Linked DNA regions of Homo sapiens: all the other regions are linked to region 5. The links are contacts of gene promoters, found by promoter capture Hi-C in blood cells and fetal thymus (Javierre and others, 2016). All regions are on one chromosome and are shown on one strand. The core of a region is centred on a gene start or on the middle of the fragment in contact, and the rest is flanking DNA. Distances in the headings are between cores, read along the strand shown. Region 1 overlaps ADAMTS6 (ADAM metallopeptidase with thrombospondin type 1 motif 6). Region 2 overlaps LOC107986419 (a long non-coding RNA gene). Region 3 overlaps ADAMTS6 (ADAM metallopeptidase with thrombospondin type 1 motif 6). Region 4 overlaps ADAMTS6 (ADAM metallopeptidase with thrombospondin type 1 motif 6). Region 5 holds the start of ADAMTS6 (ADAM metallopeptidase with thrombospondin type 1 motif 6). Region 6 has its middle 350 kb from the start of ADAMTS6. Region 7 has its middle 340 kb from the start of CWC27.

Region 1 (4,359 bases), core at 501-3,000, 280 kb after region 5:
TGTTGGTTAGCCCATCAATTCCAAGAATACATTTATATTTCTTTCTTTTTATTGTTGACTCATTCACAGGAGGTTGTAGAATGCCCATTTATCCATTACATGGTCTATCACTGAAATGATGGGACTGATGAGTAGAGTTGAGAAGACTTAGAAAGTCTTTCTCCTGCCCTTAACCACCCCCGACCCATCCTTCTTGGTTTAACACATGTCACCCTTTCAAGTTAAATTCAAGTTGTAATTTCTGTACCTTGAGTGCCTTCTTTCTACTTTTAAGATGGTAAATTGCCCTGAGAAAAGCAATATATTGCCAAATACTATGTTACAAATGAGTTTACAAAATTATTTAATTCTCTGAAAGAAGAGAAAGATAGGAACACATGAGAACATTGGGCAGCTAATAAGAGGAGTAGAGGGACTGGAATGGAGGGAAGAAATGAAGAAGAGCGATGGTCTCTGAACTCTTTGCTCAGACTGGGACTCACTTGAACCATCACCACCCCCTAGAGTAAGAACAGCAGATGGTTTCCATCCAGGACTCATTTGCCATTTGATGGGCTTCTTGCACCTTTTCCTTTGGTACATACTGTATAAAAATGCCATTAAAGCCATTTCTTGATATGTAGCTAGAGCAGTGATTCAAGTGGAATATGCCTTCTTCCCATTGTATAAAAGAACCTTTGATGGGAAAATAGATCTTTAACTTTGAACTATTGGCAGAAAATTAAATATAGGATCTGACATTTAAACTTATGGACAAAAAGTGAGGGTTACATTTCTGTGGTAAGGACCATCATATTTGAATCTTTAGTATCAAAGAATAAAAAGATAAGCAAATTAAAAGTCTCTAAACAGAATATACCTTTTGTAGAGGGTTTAAAGTAAATATATATTGGCAATATCATCTCTTATAATTAACTTTCGTAATATGAAGCCATTACTTTTTTTAAGCATGGAGGAAGGATTGCATTAAAAAAACATATACATACAGTTTGCATGCCAGTAACTTTAGGTGTTTAAGAATAAAATACAATTAGTGTATTTTTATTAAATTCTGCAGAACATCTGCTTATTTCCAGGGGATCTGGACACTAAGCCACTAGAATTTTGTTTTTGATTAGGTACACACTGACTGGTCATGTGGACATTTTATGTTTTGGTTATAAACTATAAGTCTTTAGATTTGAAAGCATCGTGGTTTCGTGTAACTGGATGTAATTATTCCCAACCGGGTTTAAAATCAACATCTTAGCAATGTTTTACAGACTACTTTAAAAGAAGTTATGTACAAGAGGCTTGATCATATAAAAAGAATCTAAACTCAATCATTTCTCTTGTGGACTTAGTTTAGATTATTTCCAGTTGATCTGTATTTTCTACTTTCTAAAGTTAAAAGCTGCATTTTCCTTAATTCAAAAGTATGTGTTTAAAAATCCATTCATTTAGATGCCTTGGTTTATAGAGTTATCCTGTTGCTACTGACTTAAAAAGAAAAAAAAATCTGTAAACCTGCCAAGTGTGGGAGTAATAGTTGGAAGGAGCTTTGTATGCTGTTGGAGGAAGATAGTACAGTGTTGTAGGAAGATTTGGAATAGATTACTGATATAGTCAATTCTTGAGTGTGAAATACCACACTGTCTAATATAACATTCTAGAAGAAAATTAATAAAAGACAAATGTAAGGAAAACATGCATCTTCATAAAATATAGAGCAATTTCAGCTGTCTATTCAAGGACTTTAATTTTTACTTCATAAAAAATAGCATTCTGAAATCATGAAGCTAAAATGAACACCTAAGTACTCTTGATTCCCAGTTTTTAAGAAGTATGGAAGGAAGGCATGATCAAAATTAAGTCAATTCATAATTCTTAGCACTTAGCCCAATATCTCCCAAGAGATACTGTGTTTATATCTCATAAACACAATGCTTTGGTTTAGTAACTATCTCTGTTGAATGAATGAATGAATGAGTAAATGAATGAATGACCTGCCAACTACATTTAGCTGACAGTTTTAGTTTGGGTATACATGTAATTTTTAAACTAATTACTGGATCCCACTAAAGAGCAAAATAGCCCTGAAATTAAAGGGGTCTGAAACAAAATATTGGACTATGGGTCAGTTTTATTTCTTCCTTGTGGTTTTGTGTAATTTTCCAAATTTTTGATAACAAATATTATGTACCAAATTTTTTTCAAGATACATACATTGTTAGAATTTATCATAAAATGAAATATAAATCACAGCTCTACTAACTCATATCTCATCTATGATTCAAATTGCAGAGGCCCTGCTTTTGCAATAAAGGCTACTTTTGAAAACAAATGTAATTATAGCCAAACAACATTTCTAGGGTTAAGTTAGAGAAAGAAGAATTTTATCTTGACTTAATTCAGTTTCTACAAGTCAAGGAAACTGAATTAATGTTTCTGCCACTGAAACAAAACCAGATCAGTTGTATTTTGTAGTGTTGAGAATGTTTATTCCTTCCTGAGAAATAACCAAGATATGTTTTGGATGCCAGTGTTCTTGTTTCAAGTATAGTCATGTTTGAATGACTTAAAAAAAAATAATCACACTAACCAATAAAAAAAAATCCCCTGCTGTCCCTGATAGAGGCAAAATATTGAACCAGGATGGATGGATAATCTGAGCCACTGTTGGAGTTGGTAGTTGACTCCTATGACTAATGGTAGAGGTATCTGTCTAGGTGGACCACATGGACCTAGTTATCTGCCCACTGGAATGACACAATGGGGAGATATCCGATGAATATCATGGAACATCTGTGAATGGATCACAACTATGCCTGATGTGAATCATTCTTCCCTCAAAAATTCTAAAGTTTAATAGTTAAAAAATTCCAAACTGTTGTCGTCACATAAACTTCATTGTTTGGCTTATTTTAGGGGTTGGGAGGGAAGGAATACAATACATACTCTAGGACATTTTGCCAGTAAGTTGTTTGACTATGTTTAAGACCCCTAAGTTTAGGAAAACATAAAAAATGGTTGCAGAAGGTGATCAGCAAGAGCCCTGGGTCAGTGCAAGCAATAAAAAAGACTAACTGCTCACCACTGTCATGGAAGCTACAGGATTTAAGTGTCATGAGCTTGGTGGATTTAATAGTTTGCCCTGTCAGTCTTTAAATTTAAAGGGCTTAGTTAAAGGTAGGTGTGCATAACATGATAACGGAGGCACTCCCACCTGCAGAATTTCTATGATTTAGGGGAACTTGGGGGAAGCATTTGGTGTGTAGCTCTTTAGGTGACAGTTTCTTTCACTGAATGATCCTGTTTCACATATATTTCCCTAATTTGTGATCACACTGTTTTTTTAGGGCATTATTACTTGAAACAACTGGGAAAAAAAAAAGAAAAACAACTGAAGGATTGTGTGGGATTAGCTAGGTGTGAAGCTGTGGTTTCCTGGATACTGCTAATGCTGCTTTTACAACTCTTTCTGGGTAATTTAGCCTACCTGTTTATAGAGATGGGGTGGGTGAGTGGGGGAATAGCTTAGTGTGTGCTTTTATTTCTATTGCCAGGAGTAACCTGTTACCGCTATATGATCTGAAACATTTAGCATTGTCTTGTAGTTTGACGTGTTTCTCTTTGATATCTTGATATACCTGTCTGCTTCTTTTGTTTCCTTGACACTAAAGAGAAAATGAGTATACATAAAATCTGTTCATCAGGAACATTTACAAATACGAGTGTGTGTTTGTGTGTGTCTTTATATTTTGTGAAATGTGAGCAAGTTATGGTGAATATCTTTGCCAATAATTGACATATATTTAATATTTTATAAACTGTATGAGAATATTTTTAGCTGTGGTAAACATATCACATAGACTAATTTTTTAAAATGAGATAAATTAATATTTGAATGAACTGTGTATGTATGTATTTGACAGTGGTATAATCAACAGGGGTCAACTCTGTTCGAATAAACAGACTAGTTGGTTACAGTCCAAAAGAGGCCCACTGCAATCTCTAATTTCTAAACAATGAATGGGCTTTTAGAGAGATAAATATATAAACGGAAGAAAAAATGAAATGTGTGGATGTGATGTATTCCTAACAAAAACTAAATAGATGGGATTTGTTCTACAAAATATCAAAAAGTAAATTTGTCCCTATTGTTCTATTTTTAAATAAATATACAATCATTGTTTTGCATTGAAATGCATATTTGTACATTTTATTTGATAATATTATTTTGGGAAATTGTAATCTGTTGTTTTGTTTGTTTGTTAAGGGAAGCACGAAGAAGAATTTACAAATGTGAATAAAATTGTTTAAGATTACCAATAGTTTCTTTTCTGGACTTGAAATAGTTACGTTTCTAAATATGAGAAA
Region 2 (4,098 bases), core at 30-2,529, 410 kb after region 5:
CAAGCCTCTATGGAGAAAGCTCTGAATCCCAGAGCAGCTGGAATCAAATAAAGGGATACCATGGAAAATAAAGGGATGGGGCAGGGCTTCTGCCATAAGGTCCAGATTTTGTGAGAATTATGACACCATCCAGAAGTGGTAGGGCTCCTGTGAACCACACAACTCCATTATAAGACAAAAATGACACAGGTAACTGATTCCTAATCAAATTTATGGTTTGCTCCATATTGCCCAGGCTTTTGGTTTTGAGCCCAGTGTTCATTGTTGCTATTAATTGCCAGTGGAGGCCAGCCTACTAATAGGGAAGCAACATGGCATCATGTAAAAAGGCTTAAAAAGTATGGGTGTGCAATTTAAACTATCTGCATCCAAATCCATTTCCTTCAACCTGTGTGACCTGGGATAAGTTAACCTTAATGGAGACTAAGCTTTCTCCTTTAAAAAAAAAAAGCGATGAAAATATCGCCCGGGCACAGTGGCTCACGCCTGTAATCCCAGCATTTTGGGAAGCTGAGGCAGGCGGATCACTTGAGGTCAGGAGTTCGAGACCAGCCTGGCCAACACAGTGAAACCCTGTCTCTACTAAAAATACAAAAATTAGCCAGGCGTGGTGGCAGGTGCCTGTAATCCCAGCTACTTGGGAGGCTGAGGCATGAGAATCACTTGAACCCAGGAGGCGGAGGTTGTTGTGAGCTGAGATTGTGCTACCACACTCCAGCCTGGGCGACAGAACAAGACTCCATCTCGAAATAAATAAATAAATAAATAAAAAATATCAAACTTCATAGAGGATTGTGAGGCTCTAAAGAGATGACGGATGTAATACACTTAGCACAATATAAGTGCTCAATGAACATCATTGTGGTGGTGGTAGCTGCTGATAAAAATTTGTTTTAAGAAAGCCTGATGTCTTCCTGTTAGCTAGAAGACCACTTCTCCACTTGGGGAATAGAAGGTGCTAGGTGTCACTAAACTGTTGGTGATTTCCACCAGAGAAGGGAAAGACCAACGGGGAAGGGCTGAGAGCTGTCTGATGCTGTTCACATGCACTCTAGCAGACTCCACTTATAATCTGGCCCAACCAGCTTGATTGAAAAAGCCAGCCTCTCCACAGGAATTTCACACATGCAAATGAGAATTTTGATGGTCCTTGTAAAATAACCTCTAGTTTAGTCTGAACAGTCCCTGCCATTTGAGAGCCAAAGTCCCCAAGATGGGCCAAATTCACTGCACAATTGCTCTAGTCTGAACCCAGCCTCAGAGACCACAGAGGTAACAGTTTTCAATCTTCTAGTCCCAAGGATGCTCCCAGCATTGCTGCTGAATAAGCCAGCCCTTTGGTTACTTCAGTGCAGAGTGAGCCAGACAACCGTTAGTCCTAGGAAACAAAAGTCAACCCACATTAGCACCCACCTTTTAATACTGTATTTTCAAGCAAAAATGTCAATGTAATCTTTAAGAATGAGAATTTTTTGGTTTATCAAGAAAGTAGCACCCTTTTAAGGTATACTCATTTGTAGATTTTTCTTGATACTTTCAAGATTTTGGCTCTCCTTTATATGCCTGTAATTATTTACTTACCTCCTTGAGAAGGATTTTTTTAAGGTTTTCAGGAGAGTGAAATAGTTGAGCTCTTGGAAATATTTAAGTATAGTTCTACTTTGTTTTATCCAGTACATCTGGATTATTTTAGCCCTAGGCAAAGATCCATTAGCATCACACAAAACTATGTTGTCTTCAAACTATATTTTTGACTAAAATTTTCACCTTAAAGAAAATGATGTTTATACTGTTTAACACAGAAAAGACTCATTCATACTCTGACTTCTTGGATGATCTCTTTGTATTTCCTTTCTGTCTTCCTCTCCCTCAAATGTGGGCCTGTCCCAAAGGTCTATGCTTGGTCTTCTTCCCTAATCTCTCCTCACTGCAGAGATTTTAGTCATCCATATTGTTTGACCTGTCACTTCTATTTAGGTGCTGTCTAAAGAGTAATGCTCAGAAAAAGAAGTGAATGATCCCTACTTCAAAAGCATTGAGCTTGGGGAGCCCACAGGATGTCCAAATAGAAAAGTCCAACAGAAACATTTCCCCCAGTGCACACAAAGACACTGTTAAGTAAAAGCTTTATTCAGGTTTCTCTTGCCTGTAATCATGCCTTGAAAAAGCTCCTATTTTAATAAATCATGGGCCATATCTGTTTGACAGAGAAGCTGATGAAGCAGGTCTATTTTTCTTACGTCGTTTCTTTCTTTCTTTCTTTTTTTCTTTTTTGGCCCTTGGGGTCTCTCATTTCTTGCTTCTGTTTATCCAAGTTTTATTTACAGTATCCTAATAAATCTCTACGTTGCAGGATCATATGGACATGTAGACAGTTTCAGGGGTTACCCAGGAGCACTGTAATGTTAGGAAGCAGATGGCAATGCTTTACTGTTGAGGACACAGGGACCTCACTGCATGATACTGAAGTCAAGTTTCTCTCACTTGACTTAAGGAAAGAGATTCAAATGGAGGACAAGAGGGAGTCTTATATAGATCCTGTCCAAACCACCACTGGGCTAGGAGCAGCAGAAAATGTCCATGCTATCCCTTCCTCAGCTGGGTAATGACACATAGAAAGCTACTTACTTCCACAATAAAAGCGCATGTAAAAATTCTAATATTCAAATGCCCCTAAGTATCACCTGCCTACAGCTGTCAATGAGGTCACATCAGTATCAGTTCCTTAACCCCCTTCTCAAAGCTTAGCTATATTATTTCCAGGTGTCCCCAAGACTGTCCAGCCTGGGTTAACATTTTGATGTCATTCCATATGAACGTACATTTGATGCATATTGCTTTGTCATCTTCTTTTTCACTTGTAGTTTACTATGAACTTTCTCCAATGAGTTAGATATTTTTTCCATAACATGATTGTTTATGTTTATATCACATGGATAATTTGTTTAAACAGTCTTCTATTGTTGTACCTTTATTTCCAATAAAAAATAACTTTGTGGTGAATGTCTTTGCTTATACAGCTTTGCATACATCTCAAATTATTGGCCTGAAATAAATCCTTGGGCATGAAATTGCTTGGCCATAGGTTATGCTAATTATAAGAAGTAAATTCTATTATTGTAAATAAGTAATGATAAGGATATCAAATACTACTAAATATGGGTTAATGGGTGGCAGTTCCTCTGGAGAGAGCTTTTAAAAACAAAAAGATACTTACGGCTTTTTAAAAAAATGCATCTTAAGGAACAAAAACCATACCAAATTTATCAATACAATGGAATAATTTTGAATTTTGAAACTGCTCTATAATCTGACATTTTTGCTTCCTAAAATTTAAATTAGATACAGTATTCATATGTAGGAATTGTAAGCATCTATTTAAAGAACATTAATATATAAATTATTAGTGATATTCATCACCAATAAATCATGCAAGTATGAACAGGCATTCTGCACTTTATTTGAAAGCTCAGTACTTGAAGTTTCTTCATTCTCTACTAGAGAGATTTTTAAGTTTTAGTGGTCTATAAAGGATTAAGTGGAATGTATGACTTGTATCCTTCGCTAGATTTTAAGAGAAAGGAGTTGTCACCAATATATTTTGACCAAATACCTTATTAAAGACACAACGAAGAATGGAGCTTGGAAGCAACGGTAGCCCAGACGCCTCTAACAGCTCCATCATTCTGTACTTTAATAACTCATTGGCAACATTATGAAGTAGTTTATGTTCCAGACTTTGCCTCCTGGTATCTAGATTTTTATAGGTGTTTTGATTGAGGTATAGAGGAGGCATTTTTTGGCTGCTGATTTCTATTCCAGATTGTGGGATGTGAATAATTTGGTAAATTAACATCAATGGGTTAGACTGTTCTTTGTTACCAAAGGCCCCTGGGCTGCCCATTCCACTGGATGGTCACATTAATTTGCAACCACAGGAGGATGGCTGCTGGGCACATACGCCCACATTGAATTTCCTTTTGCAGGTTTTCTCCCTATTTTGAATATTCAGGTAGCCACTAAAGTCTGAGGCAGCTCTCTCTTGTGCATTCATAATTCTGGCTAAACCTAGGGCTTCCAAAACTAATATCAGGGAGG
Region 3 (4,141 bases), core at 765-3,264, 330 kb after region 5:
TTAGATACACAAATACTTACCACTGTGTTCCAACTGCCTACAATATTCAGTATAGTAATATGCTGTGCAGGTTTGTAGCCCAGGAGCAATAGGCTATACCATGTAGCCCAGGTGTACAATAGGCTATACCATCTAGGTTTGTGAAAGTACACTCTAAGATGTTTGCACATTGACAAAATCACCTAACAATGCATTTCTCAGAGAATATCCCCATCATTGAGCAACACATGACTGAACTTAAAAGGATTAACATATATATATAATATATGTTTATGTTGTGCCTTACACAAATGATATGCTTGATAAATTATAATTTTTAATGCTGTCACTACTAAATTAAGCTCTTGTGGAGTTAAAAGAGAATAAAAGATGAGTCGTGGTTGGTGAATAGATTTTCATCAAATCTAAAGATGTAATGAACTGATTCTTCTAGTCAGGCCAGTTCCTAGAAGGCAAAACCAAGAAGTAGGAACCGGATCTTCCATACAGCCTAGGAATCTCCATATTAATGTTTGAGTCCTGAAGTCTCCAGATCTCCCACAGGTCTTTCCCCACTCCTGCCCTCATCATAATTTTCTTGCTTTCTGTTTAATAGCTTTCTGATATTTTGCTTAAATGCGTAAATGTGTAACCCTTTCTGAGACTATATTTATTTTGACAGGGATCCCAGAGAAATAATACATGATAGTTGTTCTCAGAGGCAGATGTTTTGCTGTTAATAATGAGAACTAATGAACAATGCTTACTCTGAGCCAGGTGCCATGGCACATGCATTATCTGTATTACCTCATGCAAACCTCACAACATCCTATGAGCAGACCTTATCATAGTCTTTATTTTGGAGATGAAGTATCTGAGATTTAGAGAGGTGAAGTAACTTGGCAGAGGACAATCAACTCCTAGAAGAGGCAGAGCCAGAATTCACCCCCAGGCCCACCTGAATCCAGATCTCCTGCCCCTAACTACTGGGTTGTGTTGCCGCTGCAGGCAACTCAGGGGACACTCATAATCCCAACGTCCCTAAGCTTGATCCTGTTCCCAGAACCTACGGACTTCCTGCTTCCAATCAAGTTAAGTGGGAACTAACTTAACAAGGGTATTGGGAAGTTCAGAAAGGAACATCCTGATAGCTGGCCTCCAGCCTGCCCACAGGCTAGATACTGCCTCTGAACAAAAGGCTGTGTTCTGGGCCTCTGCATGTAGAGAAGAGTCTTATTTCTAGCACTCATCTAAGGAACAAAATCCCTGACTATTCATATTTGAGTTTTTTGTTTGTTTGTTTGTTTTTTGAGACGGAGTCTAGCTCTGTCGCCCAGGCTGGAGTGAAGTAGCACAATCTCAGCTCACTGCAACCTCCGCCTCCCGGGTTCAAGTGATTCTTGTGTCTCAGCCTCCTGAGTAGCTGGGACTACAGGTGTGTGCCACCACACCTGGCTAATTTTTGTATTTTTAGTATAAATGCGGTTTCACCATGTTGGCTAGGCTGGTCTCATGCTCCTGACCTCAGGTGATCCACCCACCTCAGCCTCCCAAAGTGCTGAGATTACAAACGTGAGCCACTGTGCCCGGCCAACTATTTATAATAGCCTTAATGGGTGGGTGGGTAGGCAGGTGAAGGGAGAAGCAATTTATGAATATTCTATTTCATTCATTATGTATTATAATTTAAACTGGTGAATTTACTTCTAATTTGCTCAACTCAGAGTTTTCTTGGTCCAGCTACTCTTCTAAAAATGGAGTAGTAAATCTAATGAAGTTGTTCCCCAGGAAATACTCCACTTTGTTTTGTCTGCAAACTGACTTGTGTCTTTAGGGCAGTATTTTCTTAGTAGTAGTTCAAATATTGCATCCTCATTGAGATATTTGGAGAGTAACTCCTTGCTTCCTTTCTGTCAGGCAATAAAGATACTAATAACTAATAATTGTAATAATAATAGCAATTCAGTATCCTACACTTATCCCATACTTCCTGTGTTCCAGGCACTGCTGTAGTTGACGTTCGTAAGGATACACGTGTAGTCTTACATGTTACACGTTGAGTGTGGGTTCTCTAATCATTTCTGTTTTACAGATGAGAAAACTTAAGCACAAAGAGGTTAAGTGATTTGTCCCTCTTCTACCTTCTTCCAGCTAAAACTTAAATTTACTGAGAATCCTGGTGTGAAAAGTTTTAATTCATATTTCTAGCTATTAATCTCTTTGTAAGTGAAATGTTGAGTAAGGGAGCTGGGTGGTGGCAGAGATGTTTTCAGTGGATTTGGGAGTTCCAGTTTCAAATTTTAAGACTTTCACCAAAGGAGCCTTTAAAAATTGAGATCAATAAGATTGTTATCTTCATATTCAATAATAAGAACTGGGAACTTTTCCATGTCTTTGTACTTAATTTTCCATGTTTATCATATGGCTCATGTGATAAACTACAATGTATCTGATCTCTTAGAACTTCAGTGGGTTTTTGAAGCCAGGAAAAAACAAGCAAACAACAAAAACTGTCTGTAACACTGAACATTACCCACTGCCCAGCCTGATTCCTAATTACCTTCAACAATTTACCCAGGATGCTTCAGTATAACTACCTGGAAAAATGAGGGTGGAACTTTGGTTCTAGCAGGCATGTGAAAATTTCATTACTAAGTTTACAGAGTATCCTAAAGTCTCCAAACAAAAGTGACCAGAATACTGGAAAAGAATATTATTGCTAGCAGTGGGGTTGTATGGAGCCAGGGGGAGTTCTGAGAATCAAAGGCCCATGTCCCTTTCTCTACACTGGACCCTCATCCCACCTTCTGCAACCAGCCTCAAGGGGAGATGGAGAAAGAATCATTTATTCACCTTCTGGCTGCAAGAACTGCAGACTGCAACTGTGGCAGTTCTAGCACTGAGGAGAAAATACACATAGGAAAAAAGAAGACCATGTCTCACTTCCAAATTAAAAAAAGACATTTCTACATGTTTCCATAACCCACAGACTGCTGCCATTTGAGGCCAACCCCTCAAAGCTTTCTTCTTTGTCTAGTGTAGTTGCTGAATCTAGGCCACTCTCAGCAATCCTTTTCATTCACCCAGGCCCATCCCCACGCCTCACAGATGCAGAGATTCTCTGGAGACGTGTACTTTGGTATCAAACAATGCAACTCATGTTTGATTTTGGATAACCTTGCACTGTTGAATAAAATAACCCTTGAGAAAGAAGCAATAAAAGTGCTGTAAGAAAAATGACTCATGTTTCCAAGCTGTCTAAAGTGATCACTTATCCTAGCAAATGGTAATTCTTTCAAGACACAGTGGGCATACACCATACTTATAAAAATCTGGAAGGAAAGCCTTGCAAACATTTTTTTAAATTGTGTTAAAATATATCAAAAGAATATTTCTAGTAGACTGTACCAGGCAGGGTATGCTTAAAAACAAAAACAAAAACCACATGGAGGTCGAAGCCAAGGTGGATTGGCCCAAAGGGGGTCCTTGCTGAACATGCAGGCCCATCGGCTTGTTTATGTACTTGTTTATGTGCCTCTAATTGTTTTCCATTTTCTGCCCCCATTCGTTAGAGTGCAAAGATGTGAATAAAGTGGCTTATTGCCCACTGGTGCTGAAGTTCAAGTTCTGCAGTCGAGCATACTTCAGACAGATGTGTTGTAAGACCTGCCAAGGACACTGACCCACAGAAAGCCAGAGAGAGTGCCTTGTCATTTCATCATGGAAATGCATCCATCAAAGAGAGCCACCCAGAGGAAGAGGATTGATGTCCTTGCAAATGCATTACCCTGTGGAAAACGTAACCACTGGTCAGCCCTAGCTGACAAAATTTCAATATTATTTTAGCTTCTGTGAAGTGGGATTTATTGATCCAAAGTGCTGGACACGGTATTAGGAGGGAATGCCAGATTGGAGAGATCCAAACAACACAGGGAGACTTGCTTACTGTGGAGCGTTTGTGTTCTTTCGAGTAAATCCAATAGCCTGTTTACCTCCTTGGACCATTAAGATAATTTTTATTATGGACTTAGCAATGACACTGAATCCATTTGTATTTAAAACTGTTTAAAATGTAGCTGTTATGACTTGGTCAACTATGGAAGTGAAGAAGGTTCAGAATTCTTAAGTCATAGCTTAAAAATATTTACTGTACTTTATCTCA
Region 4 (4,007 bases), core at 702-3,201, 300 kb after region 5:
CATACGTAACCGTGGCTCATCTTGCTTTTCTAGAAATTTTTATTTTTTTATTTTTATTTTTATCTTTTACATAGCTAAGTAAAACAGAGGACTTCAGATGGACAAACACATTGATAGTAGTCCCCCCTTATCCACAGGGGACATGTTCCAAGACCCCCAGTCGATACCTGAAACTGCAGATAGTACTGAACCTTATATATACTATATACTTTTTTCCTATCTATACAAACCTATAATAAAGTTTAATTTATAAATTAGGCACAATAAGAGATTAACAATAATAATAATAAAATTAAAATATTATAACAGCATACTGTAAAAAGAGTTCCGTGAATGTAACGTCTCTTTCAAAATATCTTTCTATACTGTACTCATCTATTTTCAGACTTCAGTTGATTGTTGGCAACTGAAACTGGAAAATGAAACTGTGGATAAGGAAGGGATTCTGTATTTATCAGTAGGGTAAAGAGGGAAAAATGAAATTTAGGCTCAAGAAAGCAGAAGGAATAAGTAAATATAAAAACAAACTGAGGACTTCTCTGCTTGAACATCTCTGACATAAGGTCAGAAGGACTTGCTAGAGTTCTACTTAAATGAACCAGGTTAAAGTGGCATTTCTGTGCCTTTACTATTTTTACAAGCAATTTTTAAACATTTAATTTTATAATCACCTGTAAGAAGTACAATATTTGCAGAGAACAGAGTTGAGACTCTGGCTGTAGACATGTAATATTTGTGGCTGGATCTGCAGGGTTCAGGTGTAGTGTATTCACTGAGTAACAAATGTGACAGCAATGTAGTTTTCAGTCATTCACTGTCTTGAAAATCTGGTTGATTTTCAGTCATTTTCTTGAAAATATGGTTGAAAATCTCTGTACCTCTGTTACTATAAGATAAAATATCCTTGGCTAAAATGGTGAATTTTGAGGTGTAATTTTTCTAAAATGATTTCTTGCCTAAGTAAATGTCATTATGTGTTTAGCTTTACACATAACTGCACATTGTTCTACAGAGGGTTAGTCTTTGTGCATGTATCTTTCAGAGCTTTATTTTTAGTAGGAAACTGCCATCAGGATTTGTTTCTACCTCTTAGCATTTCAGTTTCCACACCTGTAAAATGGATATGTAACAGTACTCACTTCATGGAGTTTCTATGAGGATTAGGTAGATTATTACATGCCAAGGATTTAGAACACTACTTGACACAATAAATATTGTGCTGCTATGTCTTCTCATCCTTCTTTTTTTTTTTTTTTTTTTTTGAGATGGAGTCTCGCTCTGTCACCCAGGCTGGAGTGTAGTGGCACGGTCTCGATTCACTGCAGTCTCTGCCTCCTGGGTTCAAGCAATTCTCTTCCTACCAAATAGCTAGGAGTACAGGCACGTGCCACCACACCTGGCTAATTTTTTTTTGTATTTTTAGTAGAGACAGGGTTTTGCTATGTTGGCCAGGCTGTGGTCTCAAACTCCTGACCTCATGATCCACCCACCTCAGCCTCCCAAAGTGCTGGGATTCACAGGCGTGAGCCACCGCACCCAGGCTTATCCTTCTTATTATCAGTCATATCTGGTTTGGTTTTGGTTTGGGTTTCCTGGGGACTTCTCAGATGGAGATGAATGAATTGTCTTTCTTCGCATTCTTCATCTCCCCTAATTGTAAGCACGACCTGGCATATGATTTTAGGAAAGGCAGCTAGATACTACTACATTCTTAAAATAATAACAGAAGCTTCTTGCCACTGGAAAAAGTTATTAGAATAAACAAGAGATGTATGTCCCAGACTTTAATATGCATACACATGATTTTAAAATGTGAAGGAGGCAGGGGAGTGGCACAAGTGCATTTTTCAATGAATGCTTCCGTTAGAAAACTAATCATAGCCTCGAAATACAAAAACTGAGTTCCGTATACATCCTATATGTTTTTGCCTAGCATGTGGATGAAGTGGCCTTGTATCCTCTTGGACTTCACCTCAACTTATTCTTACAATAATTCATATTTACTATGTATTGTCATGAGTTTGTTTCTGCCAATACTAAGAGCAGCCTGTGAATACAATAATAACAGAGAAATGGATAATGAGTAGGCCCTAAAGTATGGGTCACAAGGCCTAGGATTTAGTTCCAGCTTTACCATTTGCTGTTTATCCTTAATGAAGTCTCTTAAGCTTTCCTCATCTATAATAATTCTTAAAAATTTGTTTAATAATGTTTAATATTTGAAAATATTTTCTGAACTGTTCATCTTTAATGAAATGTAAAGTAGTATAGTAGTGTTTTTGTTACCAGTGATAATATTAAGCTTTAAGAGAGTGGCAGAAATCCTCTTAAGTCTTTGGTTTGAACAGTGGAGGAGACTTGGCATGAAGCGAAGAGGATTAAAACAAGTGGAACAAGTTCAAGAGATAGAAATGGACTCGACACAAGTGAGGCAAGCTCAAAGACTTGGATTAGGTCTTTATTCATTCTACAGAAATTATTGCATGCCTTGGTTTCTTGAAATATAAGTGATTGTTGTATTAAATTAGACAATACATATAAAGTACATAGTACAGTGCCTGACATCCAGAAAACACTTAGTAAGAATTAGTATTAGAATGGCTCCACCATTTAATATATATGTGACTTTTTACCAGTCACTCTAAGTTTGTTTTCTCATTTTAAAAACAGAATAATAATTGCCACCTCATAGGAGAGTTGTAAGGACTATATAAATTATAGCATTTAGCACACTTGGTATATACAGTATTTATTAAATGACAGATGCTATTAGTGGCAGTAGTAGTAGTAGTTACTGTAGCTGCAACAGCAACACTATTTGCTTTGTGCCTGACACTGGGCTAGCACTGGAGAATATTGGAAATTATTTTATATGGCTGACATATAGAGAGATGAGCCTCAAGAGGTAAGTAGAGCCTTACTACTGTGGGGTACTAAGCATATATAGAGTTTGAATTTTTATCTTGAAGGCAATAGTAAGCCATTAAGGGATTTTTTTTTTAAATCAAAATGCAGTATAATTGGATTTGTGCTTTAGAAAGATCCCTCTGACTAAAGTTTAGGGAGTGGATTTGAGTGAGGCAAGAGGAGGAAACAGGAGACCTACTAGAAAGCCATTACAAAATTTCATATGGGAAATGATGTTTGTCTGAAGTAAGGTTAGTGGCAGTAGAGATGGAGAGAAATCAACAGGTGTGAGACAGATTTTGGAGTTGGATTAATAAGATCTAGTGATGGATTGTAGGGGTAGAGTGAGGCAGCACCAGGTTATGAGGATATTGATTTGGCTATGAAAAGGAATAAAAGGAATCAGGAATTTCTCTCTTGATCTTCACTCCCTAACTAAAGCCTCTTCTCGAGCTACACTGAAAAAATTGTGTTATCCCCTTTCAAAATGCATCTTAATGAAACCTTTTCTAAGTTGGAGGAAATGCATTCTGTGATTATATTCATTGTGATAAAGAGTTTGCATTGAATCATTGATGTTCATCTGAAAAATTTGTTAATATTTTTCTGTCTTTCTATGACATACTCCAGGCTCAAAGATTGCCCCTAACAAAATCCATGTGTGTACATGTGCACGGTGTTCACCTAGATAGCCTCATCCACAACTAGTACATCTTGATTTACCTAATGGTAAATCAAAATTGTCACCTTTCCAGATAAAGAAGAGCATATATTTATCAAGTGTTTACTCAGAGTCCTCAGCTGGCTCCTGGGGGATGTGTGTGTGTGTGTGTGTGTGTGCGCGTGCGTGCACATGTGTGTGTTTGCATGCACACAAGCATGCAAAGATGAAACAAATGGAGTAATTTTAAGGAGCTTATAATCTAATAGAGATGAAAAGACATGTAAATACATAATTATAAAACAGGCTGATGGTGTTAGGGACACGATAATTTATGTGTTCTACATCCACTTATATGGTACTTTTAACATTAATCTGTGTTTCCATGTCTGTCTCCTAAATAAGACTCTGAGCTCCTTGAGGGTAGAGACTATTTCAT
Region 5 (4,372 bases), core at 359-2,858:
CATTTTAAATGGCTTTTAGCCAGATACTACTGATTAAGGTCAGGATGAGGACTATTTACTCTGTGGACAGATGCTTTCCACTTTCAACCCTTGAAGAAGAATTGAAATAACTGTATTCTTGGACGTTCTCAGTCTGATTCATGCCTCCTTTTAGCCAACTATTCATAGATTCACCAGAAGAATTACACCTACTACCTCCGGCGTAGGAAGAAAAAAAAAAATCAAATGGGCAATAATGTTAGCAGAAGCTTGATATTTAAGAGCTGGTATTCAGAAAGATCATCCTTCCTACCCCCTTCCCTCCGGTCCAGTTCTCCTTTCTGGTTCTCACCATCGGAAATTGACTTGGCATTAACTAAGGGCTGGAATTTCAAGGCGTCAATTTTCCCCTGCCCCCAACCTCGGAAACTCTTAAACAGCTCCCTATTCTACACTCAATGGTAGAGACAGATAAATGATGCAGCAGATTACACCGTTGAAAGGCAACATTTGTCCTGAGCTATTTTCACATTTTTTCCTGTTTCCGATGTATGTGCCAGACTTTGTTTGCTTGCTTAGGACATGGAAAACACTGGGCATTTTCTCCCCAGCGGCTTTCATTCTCAGCAAATGAAAGTGAAAGTGCTACATTGTAGCGGTATTTTATCCTTAAAGTCTGGACTGGCAGCTTGTGTGTAGGGGGGAGGGAGGGTGGGATTGGGAAGGTTGAAGAACCAGTTTTGAGGTTTTGTTTGTTTATCTTGAGATCGCAGCAGGGTTCCTGTTTTTTTCCCTTCCTTTTTTTTTTTGGTGGTGGGGTCCTACTTCGGATTTATTTTCATTTGGGCAGTCATTGAAGTTTCATTCAATGGACTGACTTAAAAAAATACACTCCACTTGTGGCTTTTCCCGGTTGCACTTTAAAACACCATCCAGTCTCACCCTCATCTGGAAATAATGCAAGCTTCTCTCTTCCTTCCCCCGCTCCCTCCTCCCCTACTTTTTTTTTTTCTTCTTCTTCTTCTTTTAAAGCTCCACATAACCTGAAGTCGATAATCAAATGGAAAATGTGCTGGTATTAGTTTACTTTAGTTTACTTTCCCTTTTGGTGCTAACCTTACTTGCTGAAGTATGTATAAAACACAGGCATTTTGTACACTTGTAGCTACTGAGTCTTGTGCCTGCTGCACGAATCTAAGCTTTAAGTTTCCTCAGAGGCACTGTTTGCGTGCAAGTTTTAACATTTTGATTGTGTGGATTTTAAAAATAAAATTACACGGAGAATGACACCAGAGATCTTAACAGTGACATTAGTCCATCTAAAGTCATTCATCCTTCTCCCTCCCCCTTCATTTTTCCAAGAAACAACTAATAGCAAACCAGGCTAGAATTTCTAAGAGAGTTTAGAGGAGGAGGAGGAAAAGAGGCGGAATGAGATAGGACAGAGAGGTTAGAGAGGCCAGAATTTCTCTCATTCACAGTGTGGAAAAGTTGACATTGTCTAAGCCCTTCTGAATGGCTGGTAGTTGGTTACCCCGATTGTACCTCTACCTCCCCTCCCCCTCCACGTGACGACCCAGGACACATGCGCACCCGACGCAGCCCAGGCACATCTGCAGACTGACGTCAGTGTGCTCTGCCTCCGAGGAAAAGCTGCCAAAATTTTCTCCTGCTGCAATTCAAGTTGGCTGGGGGCCGGTAGTGAGATCTAGGGCTACTTCAACAAAACTTTGCTGCCCTTCCTGCTCCTCTTGTCTTCTTTTCTCCTGATACCTTTTGATGCTCTGCACATGTTATTTGCATAGCAAAGGCACTAAGCTTTCCAGGAAGAGAGGGCACCACTTCCACCCCCAATAAGTCTTTTTTCCCGTCTTTTCTTTCTTTTCCTTTCCTTTTTTGGGGGGTGGGGAGGGAGAGAAAGGGGGTTTGCAAAGGCAGCATCTCAGAGTGATAGCCTAGATGTATTGAAGGCATCTCTTATTCTGCCAAATCGGAAAGTCAGTTCTCTAAAGCCCGGGTTAGCCAGACCATAGGGTTTTATTCTGGCTGCAGAATAACTGGCTGGTGTGGCTTTGCAAAGGGGGGCAAAAAATAAAAAAATAAAAAAAATTAAAAAAAGTTAGAGAGGAGAGGGAGTACGTGAGTCGTCCAGTGCAATCTCTATTGTCTGAAACTTACTTTTTATCAGAATTTGAAGATGAAAACGGTAAGGAAGACTTAACAATATTCAATGGAGCTTTTTTTTTTTAAACCAACAACTTGTGCTTTGCTTGTCTTCCGAATAACGCTTAGAAAACTTTTTTTCTGTGTGTGTGTTTTTTTTTTTTTTTTTAATGGCAATGAGTGAGCTTGACTGAACTCATTTTACAAATAGATATCTTTTTAACTCCAGACTTGTCGGGGGTTGTAGAATTCTGGGACTTGCAGTTATTTTATGATGCAAAAAAAATACGTTTATTTTATGAATATACAATACATGTTTTGTGAAGTGGACTTGATTATGATTATTGTAATCTTTTAACTGATCACCAAATAGTAATCCGGAAGGTAATAATGATGTGTGTGTTTTAAATTGATTTCCAGTTTTCTTACAGAAAAGTCTTATGCATTTTGTAGTTTCATGTCAGTGTCGTTAAGTCTTCAGACAAGTGCATATTTTATGCCTGGGCTCAGAGGGTAGCATTAATGTGCTAGCTGTAGCCCCGATGCTCTAGGACATGTTAAGCTCTTAATAGGCTAATCAAAGAGATGGAAACGTGTGTTTTTGATTTACTTTTGGCCACTTGGGACGTGCTAGACTCATAACCCTCCGGAGCCTTGTTTATCGGGGTAGGTCTGTATATATGGTGTATGGGACCAAAGTTCAGGGATTGAGGAGGGAGAGTGAGAGTGCAGGAATGGGGTATTGGGAAGCCTCTTTCTGATAATATGTGCTACAATTCCTGTCTTTGATGCTTTCTTTCCCTGTACTAGAGGAAAAGTGAGCGAGAGATTGAGAAAGCGCACTGAGAGGGAACAAGAGAGTGAGTTTCTTACTCTTGTTTTTATTTGAGCTGCCGGTGCAACGCGTTTGGGCCAGATGCCAACTGTCTGGGTCACACGCGTTTTATCCAAATAGATTTAGCGCTGCTGTCTGGAAATGGGCTGCTGAATGTTAACTTTAGGATCAACTCAACCAGGGCAGCTCAGACTGTTACCCTCTGTCTGGGCGAAGTGGAATGGTGGGGGCGGGGGGAGGTGAGGGTGTGCAGAGCAGAGAGAAAAAGGGAAACTGAACCATTGCTTGGAACTTTAAAAGAGACACTTGAGTGTGATTTTCAACATGTTCTTTTTATGTTCAAGTGTCGTGGACTAATTTTCTGTTCTTTTTTCTTTCTTTTTAGTTTCTGTTGATTAGACTGAAATGTTTAGATGTGGGGATGACAGTTTTCAGAATTCATGACAGGAAAAGAAACGTAACACAAAATTGGTGTAGTTGAAAGAAATTAAGAAAATTAATTTTGGAGATAATTGTTTTCTTGTGTTGCAGCAAAGTGGTAACTGCAGTCTGGTTTATGTTAATTCTGTGCTTAAATGTGATCGTTAGTGTTTTGAATTTTTGAAGAATAGCATTTAGAGGCAAATACGTTGATTTCAAACAAATCAAATTCATTCATTTGCCACAGCTGCAAATGAAGTCTGTGTAGTGGTCTTAATATTTTTGTGATTCCCAAGAAGAAAAACTTCTAGCCTGAAGACTGAAAATACTGTAATACTCCTTATGTCTGGTCCCAATACCTGTAAGATTAATTCCTACTCTTGTCTACTCTTAGCACTTCCTCTTTCTTTCCTTAGTAATCACTAGTAGTAGTAACTAGGATGGGTCTTTATGCCAAATTTTATCAAGTTTGTGACTTTAGTGAGTGAATGAAGGGAGTTACCATATTAAGAGATAGTTAACAGCATATTTGGAATATGTGTTGGGGGTAGTGGGGAGAAAAAGAGGGGAAGAGGTGGATAGCTCTCTTGCTTCTGCCAAAAAACATGGTTGATTATCAAGCTAAGCTCAAGAGAAAAAATTTATAATACAGAAAATGTGTATTTACTTGCTATCTGGAAAAAAGTGTGAGACTACATGTAATTTAGGGCTTGAGTTTTATAAATCATGGTTTGTATTTTTGCTTTTAGCTCATTTGCTTGATAGATATGTTTTGGGTAATTTATGTGTTTAGTTTCACCTTTCCTTGGAAACCAATCTCACAAATTTTATAAATGATCTAGAAACCTTTATACTTAGAGCCTAATTGTGTCCTTAGCATACAGTAGGTGATAATAAATGTGAGAGAATAAATGGAAATGAAAGAAGTTAATTTTCATATGTAAAAATTAAACACCTGAAAGGAGCATGGTATTG
Region 6 (4,261 bases), core at 1,215-3,714, 350 kb after region 5:
ATGACACAGGCCTGCGGTGGGATGCATGGTTGCTCTCAGCTGCTCCCTGCCTTCCTCATCCCTGCCAATTGCCGTGTGCTTTACAGTGGCTCCCGCTATGGAAAAGAGTCTGTTTCCCTGCCCCATTGACTTTGGCCTGGCCATCCTACTTATTGTGTTCAGCCAGTGGAATGTGAGCAAATGTGATATACTCTGTATCCTGGCCATTGGTGGTTGACTTTCTTTTTTCCCTCTGCCATGAGATCGGCTTCTCCCAAATAGGCACTGCTTGGATGGTTTCCATTTTGGAGGCTCATTTTAGTGTATCCTCTGCCTTGTCTTCTCTCCATAATCCTCAACCTCACTTTGCTCAGTAGGGGGAATGGTTCCAGAAAGCATTTGCCCTAAATAGAGTGTTCTTTTCCATCACATGCCTGGCTTCCCTATCTTGTGAGTAAGGTCCTAGCTGAGGGTGACTATTCTGAGATTCTGTGGTGAAATCTTCTTCCTCTAAATTTGTGTAGAGAAATGAAGAGTCCATCCTCATAGCCTATGGGAAAATCCTGGAGCTCTTGCCAGAGCATCAGAAGGGACAGGCCATTGCTCCAGACAGAGGAGGGTGCCCAAACTCAGAGTGGAGGGAGAATGCTCTTTGACCATAGCCTGGTCCCTAAACTTTTGTCTTTAGCCCGTGTGAATACATTCTCCATTATTCTTGGTTTTCTTTTCTATTCCAATCTTCAGAATTTTTCTCCTCGTCTCACTTGAGATGTGTAAGTTGCTAAATGTGGGGCAGATCCCTTCTTCCCCTGTGTAACTCTGTAGGAATTCTTGCCTGTTCCCTCAGTGTCTGACCAAAATAGGTACAGTCATGAGAGCTGCTGCTGCCCACAAAATGCAGGCTGCTGTCCCCTGGGCTAGGGAACAGACAGAAGGAATGACAGCAGGTTTTTCCTAGGAGAGTCTGTGGCAGAGATCAGGATGCACACACTTGCCAGACAGAAAACAGCCCAACATGATGATCTCAACTATTTTTGATTGCTAATTTCTAGTTACTGTGCTGAACACAGAGTGAGAAACAATCCGTGCTGGGGGAGTTTGTAGTCTAAGCTGCCAATGGTGTGCCCCATGCACCAGGCTGGTCAATAAATATCACTGGAGACCTGGCAGGCTGTCAGGAGGGAAGGACACATTGGATCTGAATAGTTCAGGCACTCAGTCCAAGAGGAGAGAAATGGGATTCAGCCAGCAGTCCAAGTCTGGCCTGGTTGAGAAGTTGTAACAAAATGATAAGTAATCATGCTTGTTTATGATCAGAGAGCTTTTTATCCCACAGGCCAAGGTACTCTTGAACACACTTTCTGAATGTGTCCAGTGGCCTCAGAAAGTTCTGACTGACCACATCATCCCCATCTTTGAGGAGGAGAGGTTGAGTTATGGAGGTGTGAGTCAGCTCTTCCATGGTTGTAGGGTGCAAACAGCCCCAGAATTAGGTTTCCTGCCTTGCAACCAAGGGACGCATGTTTTAGGCCTCTTGCCTCTTCCACGGGACTCTTCTGATACAAATGTCACCTGCCAAACATCCAAAAATTCAAAGGCCCAACATGGCTTTGGCTTGGAACTTAAGTTGGCAAACGATTGGCAATGTGAAATGGAGACCTTTCCAAAAAGGGGCAGGGAAACAGCCAAGCAGGAGGTGAGTGTGGCTCCACTTCCCCAGTGTCCTCTGCTGGAGGGAGCGGATAGACACTAGACACCTCTGCTCTCCCCATTGGGCCCCACAGGCAACGCCGAGCCTGGCAAATGGGAGAGACTCACCCCTCAGGGCTCTGTTGGCCATCTGAGGCACTGGCTAACACAGGTGTGAACAACAGGTTCCACACTTGGCTGGCTCGGCCCAGCCCCATCTCTGAAAATGAGCGCATGGCTCAGAACCCCTGGAAGTGCCCACAGGGGCTGCTAGTCTGGGACAGTTTGAAACGCTAGTCCAACTTAACCAGAAAACTAAATGGCTTCTCTACAAGCATGGTTGCCAAAGAGATCATCAGTAAAAGGAAAAATCAATATATTGAATTTTTTTAAAAAAAATTAAATGGAAGCCAACTAGTTTAACTGAAGAGGCAAAATACTCAGTTTTTTAAAAATTCACTAGAAGCCAGCAAAGAGGATAAAATACAAAGCCAGGAGGAGTTGCCAGTCCTTAGAGACATGGCATAGTGAATATGGCGCACCAGCTGGCCAAAATGACAAGATTGTTGTTGATGGGCAGAGTCCTCCAGGGAGATGGGTTTGGATGGTATTGCTCCGGGATGATCACAGTTGTTTACATCTGTTCCTTGGAATATTACACAAGATTATATTCCAAGCCCTGTGCCTCAGAAACCTGGCTACAGTTCCCTCGGAAGCACAGTGGCCCTGTCTTGAGAAGAATCTTCCAAGCACGGTTAACCAGAGGGCCAAGGTGACACTGGCAGAAAGAGCACTGGATGAGGGATCATAAGAGCTGAGTCCTACCCCTGCTTCTGCAACCTGTCTGTACATCACTGGCTTCAGTTCCCTCTAGGTAAAGTGGAGTTCATACTTCCCTACCCTGTGTGTTGACTTGAGGCTCGAATGACATTCTATGTGTCAGATGTAAGGTTGTGGGTGCCCCAGGGCTATTCCACCATTACCCTGGCTTATTGTAGATCTCAAGGTGGTCCTGTCCCACCATCCTTGTCAATGTACGGGCTTGGCCTTCCACTTCACCTGCAGCTAATCGCGTGGAACCTTGGTGTAGATGAGCCAGTGGAATTTCCCTGGGAATGTGGAATTGGGATTCAAGGATGCAGCCCATCTATGTGTATGGCTGCACCTGCAGGACACATACACTTGTGTTCTGTGGGGTGGACATCTGCCATGTGTGTGGAGGCACAGAGGATGCTGATTTAAATAGAGAGGAGGCCAGGCGCAGTGGCTCATGACTGTAATCCCAGCACTTTGGAAGGCCAAGCGGGAAGGATCACTTGAGTCCAGGAGTTCAAGACCAGCCTGGGCAACAAAGCAAGACCCTATCTCCACAAAAAAGAAAAAAAATTAGCTGGGTATGGTGGTGCATGCCTGTGGTCCCAGCTATGTGGGAGACTGAGGTGGGAGGATCGTTTGAGCCTGGGAGGTCAAGGCTGCAGTGAGGCATGATGGTACCACTGCACTCCAGCCTCAGCAACAGAGCCGAGATCCTGCCTCAAAAAAAAAAATTAATAAAAAAATAAATTGGAGAGAAAGCAGCCACAGAGAGACAGCCAAAGAAGAGAGTCTGTCTGGCCCCACAGAGAGAGTGGCTGCCTTTGTTCCAGACAGCATCGCAGAGTCTGAGTTCAGTCCCTTGTTAATCATGGCTCTTTCGCTGCTATTCCATGAGGCCCTCCTAAATTCTTATACCACGTTCTCTTTTTTAAACTCACACTAGATTTGAATTCACTTCTATTTGCAATTCTAATAACCTTAGCTAACCGTCAAGAACCTTGCAGGTCAGATGAAAAATCTTAGCCCTTATCTCATAAGCAATGGGGACAGTACACAGCCAGTAAAGCAGAAGCTCCTCAAACTATCACTTAAATACAACATCGAAATGTGTCTGACACAACATCTTGCACATAATGGTCACTCAATATATGGTCCTTGAATTAAAACATCAAAATAGGATATAAGTCATGTGCAGGACTAATACTGTAGTTTAGTAAAGGAGAGCAAAACAATGAAAACAAACTGCTGAGCCCTCTCACTAATCTTCCTAATAATTAAATAATCTATTTATTTAGGAAATGGCAGGGGCTTCATCTCTTCTAAGTAGTATATTTTTCAGAATATGTGTATATATTCTGGCATCAAATAGTGTTTAGATAGTACAAGAAAGGCAACATTAATGAGGTCTTCTTTTCTGTATGGTAATTACAGACAAAATACTTCCAGGAATAGGTATTTTCCAAATACATACAAATATTAGAAAAATGTTAAGAGAGGAAACCTAGATATTTCCTTTCCAGCAAAGCAGTACTTCTCAACTCTTCACTCATGCTAGATTTGATTTTGCTTGTTTGTTTTGAGACAGGGCCCTGCTCTGTCAGCCAGGCTGGAGTGCAGTGGCATGATCATAGCTCACTGCAGCCTTGATCTCCCAGGTTCAATCAATCCTCCAATCTCAGCCTCCTGAAGAGCTGGGAATACATGTGCGTACCACCATGCTTGGTTAATTTTTTTTTAAATTTTTAATAGAGACAAGGTCTTGTTATGTTGCCCAGGC
Region 7 (4,004 bases), core at 1,446-3,945, 370 kb after region 5:
CGGGAAAAAAGAAATAAAACACATCCAACTTGGAGAGGACGTTGTAAAACTATTTCTATTCACAGATGACATAATCTAATATAGAGAAAATTCTAAAGAAAACATACAAAAATCAGTTGCATTTCTATACAGTAGCAATGAAAGTTATAAAAATAAAATTAAGAAAATAATTCCAACAAATGGTGGTGAGACAACTGGATAAATTTAACCGATGAGATGCAAGAATGAATGAATTTGGATCCTCACTTCACACCATATACAAAAATTAACTCAAATAGACTAAAGACTTTAATATAAAGATTAAAACTCTTGGAATAAAACATACGGGAAATCTTCACAACCTTGGATTTAGCAATGGATTTTTAGATATGACACCAAAAACAGGAAAAATAGATAAATTGGACTTTATAAAAATGAAAGTCGTTCATACATCAAAGGACTCTACCATGAAAGTAAAAAGACACTCCACAGAATTGGAGAAAATATTTGCAATTACATATTTGATAAGAGTCTAGTATTTAGAATACATAAACACTTACAACTCAACAACAAAAAGATGAACAACCCAATTAAAGAACTGTCAAGGATTTAACAGATATTTCTCCAAAGAAAATATACAAATGATAAATAAGCACATGAAAAGATGCTCAACATCCTTAGTCATTAGGGAAATCAAACACACACACAAAATGAGTCACCACTTCACACTTACTAAGATGGCAATAATAATAAAATGGAAATTGAGTGTTGATGAAGATGTGGAAAAATTGGAATCCTCATACATTACTGGTGGGAATGTAAAATGGTACAGCCGCTACGGAAAATAGTTTGGCAGTTCCTCAAAAAGTTAAACATGGAATTATATGACCCAGCAATTCTGCTCCTAGGTATATACCTAAGAGAATTAAAAACAGGTGTTCCAACAAAAACTTGTGCATGCTTGTTTATAATAGCATTACTCGTTATAGCCACAAAGTGGAAACTACCTTAGTGTTCATCAACAGATGAATGAATACCCAAAATGTAGTATATCCATACAATGGAATATTGCTCAGCCATAAAAAAAGAATAAAGTATGGATGAACCTTGAAAATATTATGCTAAGTGAAAGAAGCCAGACACAAGGGCCACATATTGTATGATTCCATTTATATGAAATGTTCAGAATAGGCAAAGCAATAGAGACAGAAAGCAGATTAGTGGTTGCCAGGCTGGAAGGAGGGTAGAATGGGGAGTGACTGATTAATAGGTACAGAATTTCTTTTGTGGGTGATGAAAATTCCAGAATTAGATCATGATGATAGTTACAAAATCCTGTGAATGTACTAAAAGCCACTGAATTGCACTCTTTTAAATGGTTAAAATGGTGATTTTTGGGGGAGGAAAAAAACTAAAATCTAGATTCAGAAAGAAAATTAAAAGATAAGAATGATATTTTTATCCTCAATGCCTGTTGTTATACATTATAAAATTGACCTTGCAAAGTTAAAGGAAGATTTTGCTGCAAATCAAATTAGGGTGACTTACACAGGTATAGAAACTGTGTATTCCAAACTTCTTGAAACAATCTGATTTTACTTAATTGTATTATTTTCAATAAAGGTGATTCATTATATGGTAAACAAAAAAAGCCTAGACAAATAGCATACTTAAAATTACAACAGTCAGTGATTCCACCTGACTTTCTATTCATTAAGAGTGTGTCCCAGAATGAAGGTAAATTGGTAAAAAGACATAGATGATTAGGCTGGGTACGGTGGCTCACGCCTGTAATCCCAGCACTTTGGGAGGCCGAGGCGGGTGGATCACCTGAGGTCAGGAGTTGGAGACCAGCCTGACCAACATGGAGAAACCCTGTCTCTACTAAAAATACAAAATTAGCTGGGCGTGGCAGTGCATGCCTGTAATCCCAGCTACTCAGGAGGCTGAGGCAGGAGAATTGCTTGAACCAGGGAGGCGGAGGTTGAGGTGAGCCGAGATCGCACCATTGGGCCATGAGACCTAGGTTTGATACCTGACACTGGAAAGGGATTAACCATGAAGACTTCAGGAAGTCACTTAACCTCTCTTCAGCTCAATTTCTTTACTGAGATGCCAATCTACATAGACTAATAATTAGCCTCAGAGGGACTAGCGTATAGTATACATGTAATACATTATTATCATAATTTCTATAGATTGGCCAGTATGGGAAAATAAGAGAAAACTACCTCAAACCTGCCGGAGGAAGTTATGGCAAATTTCCTAGATCTCAATTGTCTTAAGCCAGCCAGGCTGACAAGGGAAACACATTCTATGCAAAAGGAATTACATATGCAAAGAGACAAAAGTATGGAAGATAATGACATGATATTGTATCAGGAACACAACATTGAGGTAACTTGGTCAGGGCATGTCCAGAAGGGGCAGAAGGTGAGCTGGAAAATGTCAGTTGGGGCCAGATCATTACAGAGTACTCCATCTTGAGTATATCACTTAAGAACTTTAAGAAAAGGAATGCAGTCAGCTTTGCATTTCTAGAAAGATAACTGGCTGAATGGGCAGAATGGATTAAAGTGAGAGGCAGTTCATCAAGGTAACAAGTTTGGAGGCTAGCACTTCTATACCAACAGGATTGGCATAGATGGAGACTAGAAGTGTAACTGACAAATGTTATTGATCGAACGGATATTGGAGGAGAGAAAGGAGGCATCAAAAAGTAACTCTAGGGTTGGGCGTGGTGGCTCACACCTCTAAACCTAGCACTTTGGGAGGCTGAGGCAGGAGGATCATTTGAGGTCAGAAGTTTGAGACCAGCCTATCCAACATGGGGAAGCCCCATCTCTAATAAAAATACAAAAATTAGCTGGGTGTGGTGGCACACGCCTCTAATCCCAGCTACTCAGGAGGCTGAGGCAGGAGAATTGCTTGAACCCAGGAGGTGGAGGTTGCAGTGAGCTGAGATGGCACCACTGCACTTCAGCCTGGGCAACAGAACAAGACTGTCTAAAAAAAAAAAAAAAGTGACTCTAGGCTTCTAGATTGTGCTCCTTGGAGGATAAGGACCACAGGAAGAGGAGCAGTTTGGGATACAGTCAGAAATATAATCAGCTCTCTGTATCCATAGGTTCCACATCCCTGGATTCACCAACCACAGGTTGAAAATATTAGAAAAAAATTGCATCTGTACTGAACATGTATAGACTTTTTTCCTTGTCATTATTCTCTAAACAATACAGTATAACAACTACTTAAATAGCATTTAGATTATATTAGGTATTATAAGTAATCTAGAGATGATTCAAAGCATATGGGAGGATGTACGTGGGTTATATTCAAATGGTACACCATTTTATATTAGAAACTTGAGCATTTAAAGATTTTGGTATCCACAGGAGGTGGTGGAACCAATCCCCCACAAATACAGAAGGACACCTGTATATATGTGGAACCCAACGGGGAAATACACATTTGAGAATAGGTGGTAGCTGGTATCATTAATTCATTATGTCCAGCAAAGTATTAAGTTCTATGATGCTATGACATGGACTTGCTCTTAGGGATTTATAGACTAGTGGGGATAGGTAAGGTATTTCACAAGTAGATACGTTAAGATGTGTGAAAAGCAGTGTTGTAATCAATGAAATACAGAATAGCTAACCCAGATTAGGAGTCAGAGGAAGCCTCTCTGACAATGTAACATTCCCACTTTGACTTTAAGGGCAAGTTGCAATTAGCTGGAGAAGAGAAACTAGGCAGAATGAACACTATGTACAAAGGCCTAAAGGAGAGAGAGCACTGCCCCTGAGGACCTGAAGGACATTCAGGAATACTAGAGCAGGGAATGCAAGAGATGGGGAAAAGAAGCAAGCAGGAGTGAGGATGTGAGGGGCCTCATAAGCCTTGGAAATAAATCTGGGTGTTTGGGTCGGGAGTATCTTGATAAGACTGAGTTCTAGAAAGGTCATGGTGCTGCACCAGAGAATGGCATAAAAGGGTGTGAGGTTGTTTGCAGAAATCAGTTA

What was found. The method cuts DNA at HindIII sites, captures the fragments that hold promoters and counts their contacts. A CHiCAGO score of 5 or more calls a contact.
Region 1: a fragment that was not itself captured here is called in contact with the fragment with the promoter of ADAMTS6 in region 5 in 1 of 17 cell types (endothelial precursors); the score reaches 9.4 in endothelial precursors.
Region 2: a fragment that was not itself captured here is called in contact with the fragment with the promoter of ADAMTS6 in region 5 in 11 of 17 cell types (activated CD4 T cells, M0 macrophages, total B cells and 8 more); the score reaches 10.4 in activated CD4 T cells.
Region 3: a contact is called between a fragment that was not itself captured here and the fragment with the promoter of ADAMTS6 in region 5, in 1 of 17 cell types (endothelial precursors). The highest score is 6.4, in endothelial precursors.
Region 4: a fragment that was not itself captured here is called in contact with the fragment with the promoter of ADAMTS6 in region 5 in 1 of 17 cell types (endothelial precursors); the score reaches 6.5 in endothelial precursors.
Region 6: a contact is called between a fragment that was not itself captured here and the fragment with the promoter of ADAMTS6 in region 5, in 3 of 17 cell types (endothelial precursors, M0 macrophages and total CD8 T cells). The highest score is 8.5, in endothelial precursors.
Region 7: a contact is called between a fragment that was not itself captured here and the fragment with the promoter of ADAMTS6 in region 5, in 16 of 17 cell types (naive CD8 T cells, megakaryocytes, total CD8 T cells and 13 more). The highest score is 18.5, in naive CD8 T cells.

The regions. Positions count from the first base shown.
Region 1 is chr5:65,197,340-65,201,698 of GRCh38, reverse strand. The region is part of intron 20 of ADAMTS6 (ADAM metallopeptidase with thrombospondin type 1 motif 6); the gene reads left to right. Among named protein-coding and RNA genes, the nearest start is that of ADAMTS6, 280 kb to the left of the region's middle. The HindIII fragment of the contact is 8,501 bases long and covers 1-4,359 here.
Region 2 is chr5:65,067,196-65,071,293 of GRCh38, reverse strand. The region is part of intron 2 of LOC107986419 (a long non-coding RNA gene); the gene reads right to left. Among named protein-coding and RNA genes, the nearest start is that of CWC27, 300 kb to the right of the region's middle. The HindIII fragment of the contact is 1,697 bases long and covers 431-2,127 here.
Region 3 is chr5:65,151,356-65,155,496 of GRCh38, reverse strand. It overlaps ADAMTS6 (ADAM metallopeptidase with thrombospondin type 1 motif 6), which reads left to right. Exons shown (of 25, transcript NM_197941.4): 25 at 3,552-4,141. The coding sequence ends at 3,661. Among named protein-coding and RNA genes, the nearest start is that of ADAMTS6, 330 kb to the left of the region's middle. The HindIII fragment of the contact is 1,974 bases long and covers 1,028-3,001 here.
Region 4 is chr5:65,179,699-65,183,705 of GRCh38, reverse strand. All of the region lies in intron 22 of ADAMTS6 (ADAM metallopeptidase with thrombospondin type 1 motif 6), which reads left to right. Among named protein-coding and RNA genes, the nearest start is that of ADAMTS6, 300 kb to the left of the region's middle. The HindIII fragment of the contact is 439 bases long and covers 1,732-2,170 here.
Region 5 is chr5:65,479,156-65,483,527 of GRCh38, reverse strand. It overlaps ADAMTS6 (ADAM metallopeptidase with thrombospondin type 1 motif 6), which reads left to right and starts at 1,608. Exons shown (of 25, transcript NM_197941.4): 1 at 1,608-2,185. RefSeq lists enhancers at 1,406-1,455, 1,229-1,728, 1,496-1,855. The HindIII fragment of the contact is 619 bases long and covers 1,181-1,799 here.
Region 6 is chr5:65,130,560-65,134,820 of GRCh38, reverse strand. No RefSeq gene overlaps it. Among named protein-coding and RNA genes, the nearest start is that of ADAMTS6, 350 kb to the left of the region's middle. The HindIII fragment of the contact is 5,026 bases long and covers 1-4,261 here.
Region 7 is chr5:65,106,226-65,110,229 of GRCh38, reverse strand. No RefSeq gene overlaps it. Among named protein-coding and RNA genes, the nearest start is that of CWC27, 340 kb to the right of the region's middle. The HindIII fragment of the contact is 5,582 bases long and covers 1-4,004 here.